2 separate regions of the Homo sapiens genome follow, and region 1 is linked to region 2. The links are contacts of gene promoters, found by promoter capture Hi-C in human tissues and cell types (Jung and others, 2019). All regions are on one chromosome and are shown on one strand. The core of a region is centred on a gene start or on the middle of the fragment in contact, and the rest is flanking DNA. Distances in the headings are between cores, read along the strand shown. Region 1 has its middle 30 kb from the start of ATP8B4. Region 2 holds the start of FBN1 (fibrillin 1).

Region 1 (2,700 bases), core at 101-2,600, 1.5 Mb before region 2:
CCTGCTGTCACTCTTGTTACTGTTACTGATCCTTGTAGCCAAGGATAATTATCTCAAAAACCACTATGAAATTTTTTTTTTTTTTGGGACGGAGTCTTGCTCTGTCACCCAGACTGGAGTGCAGTGGCGTGATCTTGGCTCACTGCAACCTCCACCTCCCGGGTTCAAGCGATTCTCCTGCCTCAGCCTCCTGAGTAGCTGGGATTACAGGCACCCTCCACCACACCTGGCTAATTTTTGTGTTTTTAGTAGAGACAGCGTTTTGCCATGTTGGCCAGGCTGGTCTCAAACTCCTGACCTCAGGTGATCCGCCTACCTTGGCCTCTGAAAGTTCTGGGATTACAGGCATGAGCCACTGTGCCCGGCCAACTATGAAATTTTCTTAATTTTTCTCTTAAAAGCCTTTGTCTTCCTTTACTGCCCTGAATACACACATAGTTTACTATGGCATGTGCTTTCCCACTGCAATGCCTTATTCCCAAATACATATCATTTATTTTTAGAGAGTCTTTCTTTGCTATTTAGGTTGATAAATGCCTCTATTAGAATTTCATTCTAATGAAGTAGTTTTTCATTAGATTCACTTCTCTTTTGAGCATATTATCATCATTATCATTATTATTATTGTGGTTATTTCTCTAAAGAGCTCCTCTCTGCAGTTGTTTCCTACCACCTCAGTGGACTCTGTGATGATCAAAGAGATCTGCTTCAAGGCTTAGTGCACATACACATATTATCCCCTCCCATGCTTGCCTTTTGTTTCCTTATAAACTGTTTAACCAGGAAAACAGGTCTGACTGATTTGAAGAGGAAGAGAGGTCAGCAGTCTATCACCAGATCAGACTCTACCAGTGATACTAGGATCTCCTTTCTAACTTCTGGCCTATAGCTTACTCTCTCTTGTCTTCTGTGTTTTATGCTTATGACATGACTCAGATAATATACAGGGACATACTGGGCACTACGGCAGACCTAGCCAATCAATCATGGCATTATCTTAGGCTGAGCCTAATCATGTGTCAGAATTGTTCTTAACACAATGTTCTCAACTGCCACCACCACATTCACATTTAACCCCTGAGATTAGTTCTGCTTATCATCTCTGTAGTATTGATTCATAGATGAACAAGAGAATCACCTGGGAAGCTTTAAAAATAGCATGATGTATTGTTATTTTTAAAAGGGATACTTATCTTTTTGAGATACATACTAAGTACTTATGGATGAAATGATGTTGAACCATTTGAGAGATAGTTGTAGACAATATAACATTTTATTCCTAAATACTTTCAGTACGTATCACTTAAAACAAGAGAATTTTGTAATCTAACTACAACAGAATTATAACACTTGGGAAACTTGAAGTCGATACAATTTTATTATCTAATATTACATTTAATATTATTATCTAATATGAATTCTTATTCAGTTTTCGAATTACTTCAATAATATCTGTGTTAGCCTGTTTTGTGCTGCTATTACAGAGTACCTTAGACTGGGTAATTTATAAAGAACAGAAATTTATTTTTTCATAGTTTTGGAGGCTAGAAAGTCCAAGATCCTTTGCATTAGCAGGTTTGGTTATCTGGTGAAGGCTGTAGCCTCCAAGAAAAGGAATGCTGTGTCCTCACGTGGCAGAAGGTGGAATGGCAAGGAATGCATACTGCATGAAGCCTCTTTTGTAAGGGCCTTAATCCCATTCATGAGGGAGGAGCTCTCATGGCCTAATCCCCTTTTAAAGGCCCCACCTCTTAATACTGTCATATTGGCAACACCTACATTTTGGAGGGGACACATTCAACCCATTGCAATGTCTTATAGCTTTTTTTTTGTAAACCATCCAAAAGCCAATCTAGATTACAGATTGCATTTAATATTAAATATAATTATTTATGTCTTTTATGTTTCCTTTAATCAAGAGCAGTTCCCCAGCTTTTCCTTGGTCTTTAATTGACATTAACATTTTTGGAGTCCAGGCCAGTATTTTGTTGAATGTTCTTTAACTTGGGTTTATGTGATGTTTCCTCATGATTAGATTCAGGTTTTGCAGTTTGGCAGGAACACTAAAGAAGTGGTGTTCTGTCCTTCTCAGTGTGTCAGACCAGGAGGCATCTGCTGCCTGATTGTCCCATTATTGCTCGTATTAAGTTGGATCACTTAGTAGAAATGCTAACTGCTAGATGCATTGGAAAGATATAGTTCTTCTTTGTAATTAATATGTATTGCATGGAGTTATACTTTTAGATTGTATAAATATTCTTTTACGCCCCAATTTCCCACTGAATGATTTTGGCACTCTTTGATGATCCTTGCCTGAATCTATTATTTCTATGGTGGTTCTGAGAGGGTGATTTTCTGTTTCTATCATTCCTTCCACATGCATTCATTGGCATCTTTTCTTTTTCTTTTTTTCCTCCTTTAAAGGTTGGGTATAGACTCAGCAATTTTCAAAAAATTCAATGTTATATATTCTTTTGTGTCATTGATCTTGGTTGGCTCCTGTGTCTTTTGGCAGGTCCCGATCAGCTTTTGAGCATGTTCTGATGTTCTGAAACAAAAGATGTTCCAGGATCACCTTGTGCTTCCCTTGACCCAGCCCTGGAATCAACCATTTCTCCGTGGGATCCTGCTTTTGTCTTTTGACTATGGTGTTTAGACATGGAAGCCAGGGTGCAGGTATACTCCTTCTGCAGGAGGGTT
Region 2 (2,875 bases), core at 123-2,622:
TTACAGGACTATGGCTTTAGATCAGCTCATAGTTCCCACAGTTTTTCTGTTTCATCTTCATGTATCACAGCAGTTCAGCATGTCCATCATCACCATTACAACCCTGTGTGGTGGACACTACAAGTCCCATCTTGTATTTGGAAAGAAGTTGAATAACTTGCCCAGGTCTCTCTACCCTACTGTCTGGGCCCCTTTACAAACGGTTACAAATAAGGAAAATCCCTTTCAACAAGATACATTCCCAGGGTACCTGTTTGTGCTGAGCTTTTATTATTGGCTTGACAGCAGGCTGGTGGCTGCTTGCAGGGGATCTTCTGGGGGTCTCCAGTTACAGCAGCCAGGACCCAGTGTGCGACTTCAGGCCTTCCTAAACTGTTACAGGGTGCAGGCATCATTGGGCATTATCCATATAAGGATGCCACAAATACTATACCTTTCAAAGCCACTAAATTCACTGTGCCGCGCATATCCTGGGGAGAGGCAGCTGTGTGTGGGGGAGGGCGAGGGGACCGGGAGGGTGTAAGTAGAGTCCTCCAGATGAACCCCAGTCTTAATCTGGGCTGGGCAAGAGGACCATCCCTTCACCGCTCCCATCCTACATCCTAGGTTCCAACATTTACAGGCCCCTGGGTTGGACACCGACTTAGAGAGAGCACCCTGGATTCAGGCCTGGGTGGCTTGAATTGAGCCTCAGAAGAGCCGCGTCTGGAGTGGGCTCTCGACACCCAGGGCAAGTGGGGGCGGCAGAGCCCTCTCCTCGGTCGGCACAGCAGCCTCTGCCGCGGTCCCGGCCTGCGACGCGCCCAGTCTTAGCCTCCCGGCCTCCGGCGTCTGCTGAGTGTCCGGCGGGAGAGGCGCAGGGAGCGCGCTACCGGGAGGCGCGGGCAGCGGGGACTGGTTTTCTCTCGGGCCAGGGCCTCCGGGGCAACCGTCTCCAGCGCGCATTCTTGGTGCAGGTGGAACAGCTTTCTGCTCCGGTAGGGCTTCACCTATCGCGGGAGAGGTTAATCTCGGATCTAAACCTCGCAGCCGCAGAGCGGGCTAAAACCGCTACTCCACCTCTTCCCATTTCTCCCCTCCCCACCTCAAGACAAAAAGTCCCAGGCCGGGCAGGACCTGATCACCTCTGCCTCCTCCCACTGCGCTAATCCTGCGAGCGAGAGGCCCCGCACCGAGGCGGAGGCTGGCAAAGGGGAGTGGAAAGGGAGGATGGATGGGGCCGGGGGGTGGGGTGGTGATGAGGGCGACGAAGGAGGGGGTGTCATTTTCTTTTTCTTTCTTTTTTTAAAAAAAGTATTTCTCTCGCGAGAAACCGCTGCGCGGACGATACTTGAAGAGGTGGGGAAAGGAGGGGGCTGCGGGAGCCGCGGCAGAGACTGTGGGTGCCACAAGCGGACAGGAGCCACAGCTGGGACAGCTGCGAGCGGAGCCGAGCAGTGGCTGTAGCGGCCACGACTGGGAGCAGCCGCCGCCGCCTCCTCGGGAGTCGGAGCCGCCGCTTCTCCAGTGGGTGCAGCCGGGGTCCCGACGGGGGTCGGGCGGCCACCGGGGCTGGAGCTGCGGCCACGGAGGCTTTTGCGTTTGCGCCGCGCCGAGGGCAGGGACAGGGACTGGGGTGAGGGGCTGTCCCGGAACGTCCACAGCTGGCGCTGGCCCTCCCCTGCCTGACAGCTTCCTGGCCCGGGGCTCTTGGTGCCGGGCTCCGCGTCAGATGTTCGGGGGGCGGTGGCATCGCCCGGAGTCGGCGGGGACGGCGCGGCTGGCTTCCAGCCTGGCGGAGAGGGCAGGCTGAGGAGTGGGGCGTTCAGAGCGCGCATCGCGCGCAATTCGTGCCGCTAAAAAAAATAAACCCAGAGAGCTCGCCCGGGGCTTAGGACCGCTGGGGATATGGGTACTTTGCGCCGCGCTCTTCTGGCGGGGCCCGGGAGGCCGAGGGATCGGCCGGGGCTGCTGCCGCCGGGGGCCTGGGCTTTCCAGCCAGCTGTGGACCAAACGGTCTTCCCTTACCCAAATTAACTGCGCCACGCGCAGGCGGCGCACGGGTTGGGCTTGGGAATGGGGACCGCGAGGCTTCAGCATCCCGATGCCCTGAAAGTCTCCCCGCCTCGGGGATTTGTCTCTGTGTTGCAGCTGGCAGGGGCCGCCTGAAGTGGGAGCAGCGCCTGGAGAAGGCGGGAGGAGCCCGGCCCGGGGGACGGGCGGCGGGATAGCGGGACCCCGGCGGCGCGGTGCGCTTCAGGGCGCAGCGGCGGCCGCAGACCGAGCCCCGGGCGCGGCAAGAGGCGGCGGGAGCCGGTGGCGGCTCGGCATCATGCGTCGAGGGCGTCTGCTGGAGATCGCCCTGGGATTTACCGTGCTTTTAGCGTCCTACACGAGCCATGGGGCGGACGCCAATTTGGAGGCTGGGAACGTGAAGGAAACCAGAGCCAGTCGGGCCAAGAGAAGAGGCGGTGGAGGACACGACGCGCTTAAAGGGTAAAGGAACCGGTTCCCTCCTTTGGTGTGGGTCTCCCAAGTTTCAAGATCCAGAACAACGGGCAGGATGACTCTCCCTGTGGAAGACTCCTTGGCAAGACCTCCTGGGGGCACCTTAGAGGTGCTAGGGTTGTTTAGTCCCCACCCCGTTCGTGGTTAAACTACCTTGCCCCTACTCCCAGAGATTTCTGCCCCAAAGGAGAGGACGTGGTTAAATGGAATCTTGGGCCATTGTTGAGGCAGATTTTGGGAGGCGAGAAGAGTTCCTTGGGGAAGAAGGGGAGGAGTTGCGAGTGGGATAAGAGGAGAAGCCCGTTCCTTTCCCTGCAATATCAATTCTGGTTGTTTCTAGAGGAAAGTACTTTCCTTGGGGTCATCTTGGTAGATGCTGTATTTGAAA

What was found. The method cuts DNA at HindIII sites, captures the fragments that hold promoters and counts their contacts. A contact is called where the count stands out against the background at its distance.
Region 1: a fragment that was not itself captured here is called in contact with the fragment with the promoter of FBN1 in region 2 in 1 of the 25 tissues and cell types used here (lymphoblastoid cells).

What each region holds. Positions count from the first base shown.
Region 1 is chr15:50,147,486-50,150,185 of GRCh38, reverse strand. It overlaps a transcript of ATP8B4 not described here. Among named protein-coding and RNA genes, the nearest start is that of ATP8B4, 30 kb to the right of the region's middle. The HindIII fragment of the contact is 5,114 bases long and covers 1-2,700 here.
Region 2 is chr15:48,644,206-48,647,080 of GRCh38, reverse strand. It overlaps FBN1 (fibrillin 1), which reads left to right and starts at 1,372. Exons shown (of 66, transcript NM_000138.5): 1 at 1,372-1,506; 2 at 2,131-2,475. The coding sequence starts at 2,312. FBN1-DT (FBN1 divergent transcript) reads right to left here and starts at 1,276. Exons shown (of 2, transcript NR_183872.1): 1 at 251-1,276. RefSeq lists enhancers at 1,208-1,297, 810-1,334 and silencers at 1,408-1,487, 1,528-1,707, 2,118-2,247, 2,348-2,397. The HindIII fragment of the contact is 10,434 bases long and covers 1-2,875 here.